Linked DNA regions of Homo sapiens: regions 2, 3, 4 and 5 are each linked to region 1. Evidence: promoter capture Hi-C in 16 types of primary human blood cells and fetal thymus (Javierre and others, 2016). All regions are on one chromosome and are shown on one strand. Each heading gives the region's core, a stretch centred on a gene start or on the middle of the fragment in contact. The rest is flanking DNA. Distances are from core to core; before and after follow the strand shown.

Evidence for each region. Contacts are between HindIII fragments. The CHiCAGO score rates a contact against its expected background, and 5 or more counts as called.
Region 2: the fragment with the promoter of TMEM106B here is called in contact with the fragment with the promoter of ANKMY2 in region 1 in 3 of 17 cell types (naive CD8 T cells, activated CD4 T cells and naive CD4 T cells); the score reaches 8.0 in naive CD8 T cells.
Region 3: a contact is called between a fragment that was not itself captured here and the fragment with the promoter of ANKMY2 in region 1, in 1 of 17 cell types (naive CD8 T cells). The highest score is 6.4, in naive CD8 T cells.
Region 4: a fragment that was not itself captured here is called in contact with the fragment with the promoter of ANKMY2 in region 1 in 2 of 17 cell types (non-activated CD4 T cells and total CD4 T cells); the score reaches 6.3 in non-activated CD4 T cells.
Region 5: the fragment with the promoter of POLR1F here is called in contact with the fragment with the promoter of ANKMY2 in region 1 in 1 of 17 cell types (non-activated CD4 T cells); the score reaches 5.5 in non-activated CD4 T cells.

What each region holds. Positions count from the first base shown.
Region 1 is chr7:16,644,297-16,647,153 of GRCh38, forward strand. It overlaps ANKMY2 (ankyrin repeat and MYND domain containing 2), which reads right to left and starts at 1,458. Exons shown (of 10, transcript NM_020319.3): 1 at 1,211-1,458. The coding sequence starts at 1,277. It overlaps BZW2 (basic leucine zipper and W2 domains 2), which reads left to right and starts at 1,885. Exons shown (of 12, transcript NM_014038.3): 1 at 1,885-1,992. RefSeq lists an enhancer at 1,585-1,864. The HindIII fragment of the contact is 5,140 bases long and covers 1-2,857 here.
Region 2 is chr7:12,209,871-12,212,727 of GRCh38, forward strand. It overlaps TMEM106B (transmembrane protein 106B), which reads left to right and starts at 1,424. Exons shown (of 8, transcript NM_001134232.2): 1 at 1,424-1,555. RefSeq lists enhancers at 823-972, 1,106-1,624, 1,183-1,232, 1,625-2,141 and a silencer at 1,413-1,722. The HindIII fragment of the contact is 6,470 bases long and covers 1-2,857 here.
Region 3 is chr7:12,674,244-12,677,100 of GRCh38, forward strand. It overlaps LOC105375157 (a long non-coding RNA gene), which reads right to left and starts at 1,347. Exons shown (of 3, transcript XR_927043.2): 1 at 1,167-1,347; 2 at 426-528; 3 at 1-57. RefSeq lists an enhancer at 841-2,040. The HindIII fragment of the contact is 1,173 bases long and covers 839-2,011 here.
Region 4 is chr7:12,691,910-12,694,766 of GRCh38, forward strand. No RefSeq gene overlaps it. Among named protein-coding and RNA genes, the nearest start is that of ARL4A, 5.7 kb to the left of the region's middle. The HindIII fragment of the contact is 4,891 bases long and covers 1-2,857 here.
Region 5 is chr7:19,707,537-19,710,393 of GRCh38, forward strand. It overlaps POLR1F (RNA polymerase I subunit F), which reads right to left and starts at 1,501. Exons shown (of 4, transcript NM_001002926.2): 1 at 1,227-1,501. The coding sequence starts at 1,480. RefSeq lists enhancers at 625-1,229, 1,194-1,263, 1,230-1,832, 1,374-1,653. The HindIII fragment of the contact is 8,345 bases long and covers 1-2,857 here.

The DNA of each region.
Region 1 (2,857 bases), core at 208-2,707:
AAATTCCAGGCAAAGAACACATCATTGATAGATATAGCTGTGACTGACTTAGAATAGTTGAGATCAGATCGGGTGGGCTCAGCTCATCAGCACCTGTTGAGTTCAAACCGGAATTTTTTCTCCTTCGCATGTGGAGTTTCCTTGTCGCTATGAAGAATAAATCTGCCTTATTCTCTAGGATTCCACATTTCAGCCTGGCTACTAAGTAAATAAAACTGGAAACTGGGAAGCCTTATGCTGCAATGACTGGCATCTCTGCCATTCGAGGACAAACATGGCTATATTATTATTGAGTTTAAAATCACCACATTAATTGCCCGGAGTCGCACGCATCACCATCCCTGCACCGTGAGGGTGCAGAAGAAGCATGCAGTCACGCTGATGTCACCTGCCAGGTAACGGGACTCGGCAGGGAACTCCTCTGGGACGTCCACTCGGGGACTCCGGGGAAATATGGCTTCTGGCTCGTCCTCGGGGCTCCCCGCTGGGACTCAGCACTGCGGAAGTGGGGCACGCCTTGGGGGAGTGGACAAGAAAGCGCGAAGGAGCGCGATTAGAAGGTCTCATCTGTGCAACGTGGGCCGAGGGGTGGGTGTGGAGGCCTCGCCAATTTCCTTGTCTCTCTAGGGTTCCTGAGGCTGTCGGGGCTTCTGGAAGCCAGGGAGGCCCTGGATACGGAAGTCTCAATGCAGCAAATTACAGACCTAGTTCTGTACCCTTATGAAGAACCCCTCTCCCTAAGGGCGCCCTCCACTCCCAAGCGGGGGCGGGGATCGGCAAAGGATCCAGATCATTCGGCCTGCGGAAGTCTAAAGGGTCATTTAGACACCCGCCTAAGAACCTGAAACTACCAGGACTGACCGCGGTCAAAATCCCTCGGGAGCAGTGAAGAATTCACACACTGGGGTCCACACCCCGGGAAGCTCGCATTAACCTAAGGCGGGGCGTGGAAATCCGTACGTTTCCAAAAGCGGATTTAGAGGCCGAGCCTCTGTAACTACCCCTCTTGTCCCAGCACTGCTTCTGCCTCCCCACCTCTCCGCCCCTGCAACCTTTCCCAGACCAAAGGGAGAAACGCTCTTTCCCGGTTCCAGGCTGCAAACCTTGCAGAACCGCAGCCAAAGGTCACCCAGGCCAGGAGCGCCCCCCGGGCTCCGCCACGCCCCCCGGCCAGGCTGGCCGCGGCCGCGTCGCAGCCCAGCACCCGTACCTTTCCCGATGACTTCCAGTAGCTCCTTCTCCTCCTGGGTCAGCTCGCCTTTCTTTATGTGAACCATTGCTCCCGCCAGCTTGAAGGTTATTCCCTTTCTTAGGGAGTATTAAAAAAGAAACGATGCGTCTGTATTGGGAACGCCAGCCGCAATGAGGCAACTTGAGACCAAGACACTGAGTAGCCAACCGCGGAAACGCTTCGCTTCTCTCCTCCCTCCCGCGGGCTGGCGGACAGCGGGCGAGCTCGGGCGAGCCAGGCGGACGGTCTCCGCAGGCCCTGCGGCGGTCACCGCCTGCCGCCTGTCATTGGCCCTGCCGAGGAGGAGGAGCCGCAGGAGGCGGTAGCGAGAGATCGCCATTGGAGCAACCTGGGAGGACAAAACCAAATGCAGAAAGCTGGAGGGGGGAATTAAATTCCTCCTACACGTTCCGCTCCCCTATCCTGTCCGGTTCAAATATTTCGCCACATGTAATATTGAAAATTCTACAGCTGGCAGTTATGTGCTCAGCGACGGCTTTCTGGGGCATGCAGAGGCCCCAGGTTGTCGCCGTACCCCCACCATTCCCCCGGGAGTGGCGCAGTCTGGGCGGGGGCGGTCTAGGAGACGGGGGCGGTACGGGAGGCGGGGCTGCGCCGGGTTCCGTGTGTCTATGTCAATGTGTCTGTCCTTCACTCCTCCATTGTCTGCCGCCACTGCTGCTGCTGCTGCTGCTGCCGCTGCTGCTGCACGAATCGCCGCAGCCCCCAGCCTTGCGCGTCGTCGCTACCTCCTCGGACAGGTGAGAAGCAGCCCAGGTGAGGCAAGGGGCGCCGTGAGGGTTGCGAGAGTAGCGACTGCCGCCCCGCCGGGGTTTCCATCGGGCAGGAGCTGGCGGGGAGGAAGCATGTGCCTCCTGGGGCGGCTTCCTGCCTCGCGGTGGAGAAGCCCCCGCTCCACCTCATCATCACGGCGCGTACGGGGTATCAGTGCCCTGGGATGAAGACCTCCGACTCGCAACGTTTGGCCGCCTCGGGAGACCCTGGGACCGCGGGCGGGCGGGCGGGGGCCAGCCACGCGGTGGGAAGTGGCGGGTGCACATGGTCTCGTGCGTGGCACCGCCAGATGCGGCTCCCGGGGAGGCTGGGGCCGGGGCTCTGGGCTAGGTAGGGGTCGCAAGGACAGCGCCCCATTACTAGCGAGTCAGTGAGAACAGACTCGGGAGAAGGTAGTTTTTACGCTGGTGATCCTCGCCCTCCCCACTACTTGTCATCTCTTTGGCCTCTGTGGAAGCTGTAGAAGAAAACCTGATCGCCCAATGTTGCTTGTTAAAGATGTTTGGAAACAATTTACACTTGCACTAATACTTCGTTTATGAGAGACAGCCTGTGGGAGGGGGAAGGAAGGGCTTCTTTGCTCTGCTAGAGTTCTCGGTTCTCTTTGTAACTCAGATCTTGAGATTTATGGAAATAGGGAGTGGAGGGTGGGGAGGTTGGAGAGGGCGGAGATTAAATTGGTGTTGCTGCCTATATATAGCCTTAGATTAGCCTCTTAATCCAACCTTCATTCAACTGTAATATGTAGCCTGGAGCTTCGACCATAGGTAGATGGGGGTAAATACAAGTGTGTATTTCAGAATAAGATTTGCTTGCTAAAATGCGGGAATC
Region 2 (2,857 bases), core at 174-2,673, 4.4 Mb before region 1:
ACTGGCTTTATAAAAACTCAATAGATGGCTATTCCATAATTTTAAAAACTCAGTAATTCCAAGGGGAACATCATATCTCCACAGGTGGACTGTCAATAATTTTGAGAAAAATTTTCCCCCATGATTCTGATTTGTTTTAACCAACCTATTAATTTTGAAATTTCAAACAGTGTTAATGGAAGACACCCTGACCCTTCCCTTTGGAAAATATGGGCTAAATAAAAGCGGTTGAAAAATAATGATTTTATCAATGTCCCTTGTTGGACATTCAGTTTATTTAAATGGATACACCTCATACCCAAATCTTTTTAGAGTTCTCATTAGGTTTAGGATACTTCTGAAAGGGTGGAATTGCTGGACCAAACGATGTGAACATTTTAATAGTCTTGATACATACTGACTGTCTGCCAGAAAACTTAGGAGTTTTAAATCTCCGACAACATTGTATGAGAAAGCTCATTATCTCACATATGGATCTACAGTAATCCTCTTAAATTGTATATCGTTCTGACTTGTATTTCCTACTTTTACATAGCTTCATTTCCCAATTCCTGTTAGAATTCCCTGATTCTAACAGGATCACACTGATCCTGTTAGAAGAGAGAAATATATGACTCTCACTTCCTTGCTCCTGTGACTGTAAGAATGCCTACCATTCATTAAACGTTAAACTCTCCGCAGGAATGAGACTAGAGTGCCCTTAATATTATTACCGGCATCTCATTGATCCCTCAAAACGACTCCTTGTCGTTGTTCTTATCTTCTAAGTGAAATGACCTAGACGTTGGGGGAGGGCAGCCCCAACCCACAGCGAAGAGCTTAAGTACTGGGATCCGAGACGGGATTTCACACACCTGTAACTAGCACCAGAGTTAAGGGGTGGGGAGGGGCAGCGTGGGCAAAGCGAAACGAAACCGAGCAAAAACAAAAACTACGGCCTTGCCGCTTGCTGTCTCCTTCTAGTTGGCCAGTTTCTAAATTAAAATAGAGGTAGCTTTGCTGCTGTCAGCGGCGTGTGTACGGACCAGTTTATTCCATTCCTAAGGACCAGACTGTCAGCGACAACTCGCATTGCGTGAGCGAGGAGGCTGCTCAGCTGAAAGCTGAGGCAGATGGTGCACATTTATACCCTTTGCAAAAGGAAATGGTCTGATATGGGAAATAGGAGGAGCGACTGTTCCTAGGTAATTCGTGGCTACAGTGGACACTTTGAAGTCTGGGGGACGCGAAGGTAATGAAACCTGAAGAGCGCACAATCTCACACGATCGACGCCTCTGGGCTCAAACAGGAGGAAGAAGGACGCATGCGTCACGCGCACGCCAGGGGTGTCCCTCCGGGAGCGCTCTGCGCAGGCGCGGACGCAGGTTACAGCAGCGCTTGGCCTCTGCTGATGCCGTCGTTATCCTACCCCTCCCCCGTCCCAGCTCTACGGCGGCCGCGCGCTCCAGGCCGGTCGCTCCACCCCCCGGCTCCCGGGACTGTGGACTCCACGACCCTGTCCTCGGCCCTGTCCGCGCCGAAGCAGCCCGGGACTGCGCAGCGCCCCGCGTGCCGGTGAGCGACCCCGGACGTGCAGTCCCCAGGTCCCCTTCCGGAGCGAGGCTGAGCGGCTGCGCCGCGGCTTGAGCCGGGCCTGACAAGGAGGGGAGGCCGCTGGGGTGCTGGGCCAGCCGCAGGTACGGCGGCGGTCAGGGCTGGTGATCGAGTTGCTGTGTCGCCTCTAATGAGGCCCAGCCAGGGAACACTCGGCTTCGGCCCAAGCCCTACCTCTGGGTTGCCTCTAGGCCCTCACACCTTGAGCGCCAGGTGGCCCTCTTCCTTTTGCTGTTGATGAATGTTCTTGCCGTGGTGCCGGGATCTTATTTTGCAGCTTTACAGAGTAGGCTTTGTGCTAGGTGTTGTTTATGGAGCTTTTCAAAGGCGCTTGTTTCCTTAGTTCTCAAGCCCTTTTAGAACTAAAACCAGTGTCTACACAGAAGATCAGGAGCCATTTAAATTGGAGTGCTGTGATATATTTTTTCTCTCCAAACTGAGTCTGATATCCATGTTGACTTTCAGTAAACTAAGGAACCGCTATAATAAATAACACTGAGCCCACAGAGGTTGCAGAAGAGGGTCTAGCACCCCTTTTTTAAACCATTGAGTCTCCCAAGAATAAAAGTGGTTACACTTGTCAGTTCTCTAAGGAAAATCTAGTAGAGAAGGCAAGGGATTCCCAGTTTCTCACAGAGTCTGGCACTTGTCCAAACACCTACCCTAAAGCAGAATCGATCATGGCAGCTATTAGATTAGGACAGAAAACAGGCTCAAACGGAGAGCCACTTGAGTCTGCCTTTCTGTGTCTTTTTTCTCAACGCGCTCCAGTTAAGATGCAGCTTACAGCCTGGCTGTGTTGACTGAGATCCCAGAAAGAGTGCCCTTAAGGCCTTGCTGATAAGGCCCAATGATCCCAATTCATCTAGTGTTCCGCATAGACCCCAAGGTTACAGTGTGTGGGGACAGTGATGTTAAGTCTTCCCTATCCTACCTGTGGCTGACAGGTGTTGATTAAGACAATGATTTTTTAGAAGTCATAAATCATTTGTATTTTTGATGTGGGCAGTGATTTTTATAAATACATAGTTTTTTTTTTTTGAAAGAGTGAAAATCTCATTTTACATTTGTTTGCATACCATTTGTATAGTTTTTTAAATTCTGTTTATTTGAGTGACAGCAACAAGTGGATGGCATGCGAATTTTATTTATTTTTTTATCTTTGTATTTATTTTGTGTATATTCATGGAGTACAAGTGCCATTTGCTACATTGATACACAACATCCTGGTGAAGTCAGAGCCCTTAGTGCATCCAGCACTGG
Region 3 (2,857 bases), core at 175-2,674, 4.0 Mb before region 1:
TTACCTGCATTCCACATCCCAAAGCGGGTCAGTGTGTAATCAGGACAGAGCTTTTACCTGAAGTAAGCCAAGTTACAGATCCAAAAATTACTAGTTTAGTAATCTTCAGCAAGTAAATCTCTTAACCTAACTAAGCCTCAGTTTCCTCATTTATAAAATAATGGTAAATCGCACAGATCTTGCTTTCCCTAGAGGACAGTTTTGAGGATAATTGATAAATGCGAGAAACTAAAAAAAAAACCCTGTAAACTAACTGCCTTGCATTCATTTATTTAACATATGTTGGTTTTTAGAGAAATTCTAATTTTTTTTTCAAATGTCAAATTTAGATCTCAGTTTGGTCATTAAATTACTTGCAGATAGCCAGCGATTTTATCTTTCTCTTCACTAGATCAGAAACTATGCTGCATCATTGCTCAGTTTACCTGCTTTACACCAAAAAGAATTCCGTAGTCTAGAGTAATGCTTAAATCTTAATTGCTTATGACAAATATGTTGTTTTAGTTAAGTTCTGTGATCTTCAGAAACCTAAAAAGTAAAAGTAATCATATATCAATAAAGTACTATTTTATCTAACAATTATTCATATTACAGCTACAGCAACTTCATTCATTCTCCCCAGAACAACCCAGTAAGAAAAATGAGGCACAAAGATTCTAAGGCACACTTAATTTGCTCATTTATTCATTCTATAAATCTTTTCTAAACGCTTATCAATTGCCCGGTTTGGAACTAGTGGTAGAAACTATGAGATCTGCAGTCCTGTTTGATTCTTCCTTTGATCCTGCACAACCTAAAGAGGGCGCACTTACCACTCCTATCTTGAATCTTCCCTGAAAGCTTGTTTTGCTTTTCGCAACACAACCTTCTGTGCTAGGGATGACCTACATTCACTACAAGTGAAAGTAAGACCTACATACAGTCCTGCTGTCAATACAGCTGAGCAGTTGCAACTCCTTCTTCCTCCACCTCTGTCCAAGCCCTCTTTTAGTTCTGTAGACAAAGATCACAATATGGATTCATACTGGCCTGGATTGTAAGCATAGTAGAGAAGCAGTCTCCCCTGCCAGAGTAAACGCACCTGTACCTGGCACCATCTCTTCTGACTCCCTCCCAACAATTAAAGAATTGTACAAAGCAATCTGGTTTTTAAAAATTCTGTGAACCTGAAAATATAGGCTTTTCTCCAAGTTTCCGTCTTCTGTCTTCTTTAGTATTATCACCTACATTCCATCTTATCAGTGACTTGAAATTTATCCTGCACCAACTTCTGACAGCTTCAGTCAGTGATTTCCAGTTACTTCTTGTTCTATTAGTTTCTAAAGACCTTACCTTGAGATAATCTGATTAAGTAGATCTGAGTGGAAAATTGTAAAATCCAGCTTCTAGAACCTTATGCTCAATGATAAAAAGATCTCCAGATTCCATTCCAAGATGGCCGAACAGGAACAGCTCCAGTCTGCAGCTCCCAGTGTGAATGACGTAGAAGACAGGTGATTTCTGCATTTCCAACTGCGGTACCTGATTCATCTCATTGGTGGTTGGACAGTGGGTGCAGCCCACGGAGGGTGAGCCAAAGCAGGGTGGGGTGTCACCTCACCCGGGAAGCACAAGGGATCAGGGGATTTCCCTTTCCTAGGCAAGGGAAGCCATGTACCTGGAAAATCAGGACACTCCCACCCTAATACTGTGCTTTTCTATTGGTCTTAGCAAATGGCACACCAGGAGATTATATTCTGCACCTGGCTCAGCAGGTCCCACACCCATGTAGCCTTGCTCACTCCTAGCGCAGCAGTCTGAGATTGACGAGCTGACAGAAGTAGGCTTCAGAAGGTCGGTATAACAAACTTCTCCGAGCTAAAGGAGGATGTTCGAACCCATCGCAAGGAAGTTAAAAACCTTGAAAAAAAGATTAGATGAATGGCTAACTAGAATAAACAGTGTAGAGAAGACCTTAAATGACCTGATGGAGCTGAAAACCATGGCATGAGAACTATGTGACGCGTGCACAAGCTTCAATAGCTGATTTGATCAAGTGGAAGAAAGGGTATCAGTGATTGCAGATCAAATTAATGAAATAAAGCGAGAAGAGAAGTTTACAGAAAAGGAATAAAAAGAAATGAACAAAGCCTCCAAGAAATATGGGACTATGTGAAAAGACCAAATCTACATTTGATTGATGTACCTGAAAATGATGTGGAGAATGGAACCAAGTTGGAAAATACTCTTCAGGATATTATCCAGGAGAACTTCCCCAACCTAGCAAGGCAGGCCAACATTCAAATTCAGGAAATACAGAGAACACTGCAAAGATACTCCTCTAGAAGAGCAACCCCAAGACACATAACTGTCAGATTCACCAAGGTTGAAATGAAGGAAAAAATGTTAAGGGCAGCCAGAGAGAAAGGTCAGGTTACCCACAAAGGGAAGCCCGTCAGACTAACAGCAGATCTCTTGGCAGAATCCCTACAAGCCAGAAGAGAGTGAGGGCCAATATTCAACATTCTTAAAAAAAAAAGAATTTTCAACCCAGAATTTCATATCCAGCCCAACTAATCTTCATAAGTGAAGGAGAAATAAAATCCTTTACAGACAAGCAAATGCTGAGAGATTTTGTCACCACCAGGCCTGCCTTACAAGAGCTCCTGAAGGAAGCACTGAACATGGAAAGGAAAAACCAGTACCAGCCACTGCAAAAACATGCCAAATTGTAAAGACCATCGATGCTAGGAAGAAACTGCATTAACGAACGAGCAAAATAACCAGCTAACATCATAATGACAGGATCAAATTCACACATAACAATATTAACCTTAAATGTAAATGGGCTAAATGCTCCAATTAAAAGACACAGACT
Region 4 (2,857 bases), core at 97-2,596, 4.0 Mb before region 1:
AAAAAGTTTTATCAAACTTTATATGATGTAAAAACTCAGCATTCAGCTGATGCAATTGAGAATCTTGAGTACACCATCATTTGAAGCTGGAATTTTACCTTTAAGGTTTAAATTTGGCGGAACATTCTGGAAATGTAAAATCATAATGTTAATATTAAAATCTATGAAGATCAGAAGTAATAGTCTCAACAAACCATAGCCAGAGTATGTATTCAATTCTGTGCATGCACATTAAAAATATGGGAATACCTGTACAGGAAGCTAGTTTAGGAGGATGTTAAATGTACTGGCTAAAAACATGAGCTTTGGAGTCAGATCAGTGTTCAAATCCTGGCTCTCCCGTTATTACACATGAACCTTTAGCAAATTCCTTGAAACTTATGATGAGAATGCCCTCCTGGTTAAATGAAGACTGTTTCATAGAATTTTGAGAGTGTTGAAATAACATGTACAAACTTTCACATATTGCCAAGCATTTGATAAAAACTGACCTACTATTGTTAACCAGTAGGAATCAATATGTTTATTATTTCATCTGGGGCAATTTACTTGCAGCCTTAGTTTCTTAATTTGTAAAGTGTGGGTTATATATATCTACCACTGGGGTATAACTGATTAAAAGGATTAAATCAAGCAATGATATTTAGCAGAGTAACTGACACTTTAGTAAGCATTCAATTGATAGTTATTAATAGCCAGAATACCTTATGATCAACGTATTTAAAGAAAATACTTGTTTTGGCAGGGGAATATAACATAGTGAGCTCATACATGTCACAAAATGGCAACTTGGTGGAACTTAGTGAAAGTCTAAATATGCTGAACTCCCTTGAAATATGGATCATTTCAAGGGATCATATGGTACTTAGGTTTCTAAAGTACCAATTTATTGTAACACAATATTATCTTACCTTTCCCTGTAAGAGATAAAATTTAATTTAAAATCTCGGTTATTTTCTGGTGTAGGCATATATCAAAATACAATACCTCACTTTTCAGACATTAAAATTTGAAACTATATATTATGGTTCTTCAAAATGCCTCAAGATTGTTATCTATAATTCACAAATTTGATCGAATGATAAGATCAAATTTGCAGTATCTGTGGGCACATCTGGTTGATGATGGTGGTTGTGTTTGTGGGTGATTATGTGTGCTGTGTTATTTTCCAGTTACTTTCAGTCTTTGGTCTTGTTTTATGTCTCCTGTTTATGTTGCACTGAAGTGGAGATTACCTGTATTAGTGGTTGAAGAGAGATGTTGAAGTTGATTCATTTCAGTGAAGGTCTACCTTTAGATAAAATCTTAACTTTTTGTTATGACAGATTTCAATCTTATACAGAAGTAGAATAATATAACAAACACCCAAGTATCTGTCATCTAGTTTCATTAATTATCAACTCAGGGCCAATCTGGTTTCCTCTATACTTCCATTCACTTCCTTCCATGCCACCTTCCTTTTTCCTCCACTTCTAGATTATTTTGAAGTGAGTTCTGGAAATTACATTTCATTTATAAATAGTGGTATATGTGTCTAAAAGATAATCACTTAAAAAAATTTCACTCACATGTAAAAAAAATATGCTTCTTCAAAATAACCAAATATCCATCCAGTGTTTAGATTTCTATTATTATTATTATTTGAGACAGAGTCTTGCTCTTTTCACCCAAGCTGGAGTGCAATGGCATGATCTCAGTTAACTGCAACCTCAGTCTCCTGGGTTCATGCCATTCTCTTGCCTCAGTCTCCCCAGTATCTAGGATTACAGACACTTGCCACCATGCAGGGCTAATTTTTGTGTTTTTAGTAGATACGAGGTTTCACCATGTTGGCCAGGCTGGTCTCGAACTCCTAACCTCGTGAACCTCCCAACTCGGCCTCTCAAAGTGCTGGGATTACAGGCGTGAGAATACAGAAAATTAGCTGGGCGTGGTGGTGCATGCCTGGAGTCCCAGCTACTCGGGAGGCTGAGGCAGGAGAATTGCTTGAACCCAGAAGGCGGAGGTTGCAGTGAGCCAAAATTGCGCCATTGCCCTCTAGCCTGGGTGACAAGAGCGAAACTCCATTTCAAAAAATATATATATATTTGATATATTGATATATTTCTATCTCTTGCAGCTTATTATTCCCATTTATGCATAAATTGTCTCATCTTTAGAGAGAACTGAGTCTTTTTCACAGAACCCTAGTAGTTTTTGATGGCTTTTTTGATTTCTCATTTAACACAAAGTCCCTTAACCTGTACATTTCCTGTCCCAGATCTGTTTTTCTAGGATGCCAGGTTCCTTGTATTAGGAAATGGTATTTAGAGTCCACAGTCTATTACTGGATTTGTCATTGTTTCTAGGCCTTTTCAGTGGATAGTACTAGAACTCTATTTTTTTAAGATTAGATACATTATTAATTCACAGTGATAGTTCCAATTCAAAGATTTACATTCAGAATGATAAGGCATTTATTTAGTTTCAGTGATATTATTATCTCTTTTCACTCATGCCAAAAATATTAGTTATGAGCAACACACAGTTGTTTATTTGCTTTATTCCACTTTAATCTCAATGCAATACTACTGTCAATAATTTGATGACTGGTAGTGGTTTAAGAATGTTGTAGTTACCTTTGTCCTTTAGGTATATCTCACTGGAGGTAAATTCTTGTATTTTAAGGTCACTTGGAATTGTTATTTTATGTGGGATTATGTTTTAGATATATTTGTTTCACAAAATCTCTTACTTGCTTTGTAGACATGTTGAGTCTGGTTTATTTAATATATACAGTTCTTCAAGTATATTTAAAAATACTGAATTTGGGACAAAAAATTTTACACACAATACTTTAGGAACCTCTCTTTTAAAA
Region 5 (2,857 bases), core at 251-2,750, 3.1 Mb after region 1:
GGGCAAAGCATACCAGTTCACATCCAGTATCCGTTTGTTTATGCCACTCTCTTTGCCTGGAATGTTACCATGTTAAAGTACCCTCTTCAATCAAGTTGTTCTCAAAGGTCCCAAGATCCAAATTCTACACTCCTTATCTTATTAGATTTCTGTCAAATTTTAACACTTTACTATTTATTGGCTTGTATTTGTATCTCTCCTACAGCTTAAAGCTCCTTGAAACAGAGATTTTATTTTTTGTTTTTGTATCTCAAGTGTTCGGTATGTAATATAAACATACAAGAAGTGTATATTGGTGCTTGGAAGAATCTGCAGATTCTAGACATGGGTGGAGGTCCAGGATCCCTTAAGAAACTGATAAAAACTTCCGATGCAGTGCCCAAGGAACTTCACATAGGAATTCCTGAAGGGCAATCATGAATCCCTAGAGAATCCATTCCCTCTAGTTTTAGAACCCCGCTTTTAAACCAAAGTATAGTCCAGAGGAATACTCAAGCACATGCCCGCGCCCCCCGCCCCACACCTCTGTAATTCTAAGTTTTCAAGTCACTTTTGAATACCGTAATATAAATGCATACGTTTTGGTTTTTTCTCTCCCCAAAGCAACAGGCTCACTAGTTCGACTGAATAAATCTTCTTAAAAACAACAAAATCCCGCTAAACTAATGGCATTTTCATAATCCCCAGATCAGGTCCAAGAGAAGAGAAAATGGGGAAATTACCAGAGCGAAATCCAACAACAAAAAAGGTCCTTCATGTTTTACAAATAGAACGGTTGTACTAATGCTTCGTATGCTATCTTCTATGGAATGAGAATCTACTCAAGCACTGCAAACCAGATTTTTATCGTCAAATGAGAAAGCATCATCCGTAAGGGGATAAATGAAACGTTGAATGCCAAACAGAACTGGGCCTACTAGGTCTCCAGATCCCTGGTCTTTTCCTACCCCTACACCAGGGTTCTGGAGCAAGAATCTCCACTCCCTCCGCCCACACCTGAACTTCATCTTTAAGTTTTCTTCTCTATCTATGAAAGGGACCCTGTATAGATCTTTACCAGAGCGGTACTGGCCTTGAGGGACGGATCGCGACTCTAGAAATCCAGGGGGCTAAGCTCTGGGGGGCAATGCGACCTTTGCCATTTGCCCCTTTCTGCTGCGTCGTCAGCACATCCACCTGCTTTACTTCCCGTGCACAAAAGAAGGAACAGGCAAAGAGATCGGTACCTCTCAGAATAGCGAAGGAGCTCCGCATCAAGCTGTTCTCGAATGCCGGTGCGTTTCCTGTTAAGGTAGCGGGGCGACAGCGCGATGTGCCTTTGGTGCGGCCCGGCCACCAGGCATGAGTAGCGACTGTTCACCAGCGCACAAGCAGCGGCATAAGTCGGCAACTCTAGGCAAGGCAGGACGCCAGCCTGCCCTACCAGAGACCCATCAGAAGCCGCCGCTGGCCGCGGCGCCTCTGAGCAACCTGCAGCCATGCTGCTTGTCAAGGTTCCCACGGCGCGCGCCGTTGACGCAAGCACAATCCCATGTCCCCGGCGCTCGTTTTACGCCATCCACCAACGACCACGCCCCTAGGAATTTCCCCTCTTTTCGCTGCATTACGCAGCCCTGACCAGCAGGGGGAACCGCGTTTTCGCGCTTCGAGAACGGGAGCTTAGAGCCTCGGAAATGCATTGAGCACGCAGGAAAGCCAACCGACTGCTCTTTTAAGGGCAGGCAAATGTGTGTTTTCGCACAGAGGCTTATTGGATTAAGTAGGTAGCTTAAAAATGGGGGTTCTCACTTTGATCATTTCCAGTAGTGAGGTGGGTTTGGTAGAATTTTACAGGCTTGGACTGTACAATAAAAAATCAAAATATTTATGGAGTATATTTTATGCAGTACACGGAATCCTAAGCAGGCCTGATAATTGTAATGCAACGCATCTGAAAACGAACCCACTAGTTCTCTCCTGTCCCGCTTCTCTTCTCATTATGCAACTGCTAAATCAGGGAATCATACAGCCAAGCTGTCAGCCTCGGATCCTCTTTTGTATCCCCAAGTATCAAATCAGCCTGAAGACCTGTATTGCCCAAAGTGGAAATATCATTCTATTTGGACACTATTCTCTTTCCCTGCCGCCAAAACCGCAGGACTCCCTGCCTGTGGAAGCCTAGCTCAATGGTCAGGAGGACACTCTGGGGCAGCCAGATCTTCCCTGAAATACATATGATCGTGTTGTGCCCTGTTTAAGCCCTACATAGGCACCCCATTTTCTCTAGGACAACACAAACTCATGAAAATGGCTTATAAGTTACAAGGCCATTTTGTGATCTGCGTGGGCACACAGCCTCTCTCTTCAGCTTCATTTGTCACACTCCCCACCCTAATATTATCATGCTGCTTGATCTACTTTCAGGTCTCTCTTTGTGCAGTCTCACGCTGTTCCTTCCACCAGGGAATATAATAGCATTTTTCACAAGGGTAAATTCTACTCATGTATGAATTTCTAGCTTAGATTTTACATTCTATACCTTTGCAAAGAGTTTTCAAGCACCCCACTCCTCTTTCTCTATAAGGATTAGGTAGTTACCCATCTATGTTGGTTTTTATGTTAATTTTTTATTAACTGTCTTTGCTTGCCTGTTCCATCAATAGATTCCTACACTCACTAAAGTGGGGACCATAATATCTGTATTGTTCACTACAGTAGCCCCCCACAATTTATCCCTCCTCCAAAGAAACGAAACCAAGAAAAACCCAACCAATACATCTTGAATGAATAACCTGATAGTGAGTTAATAAATAATAAGTGATAAAGAGCTCACAGCCTAAGTGGAAGTGGGATCTAAACATAAACATATAACAGGTTA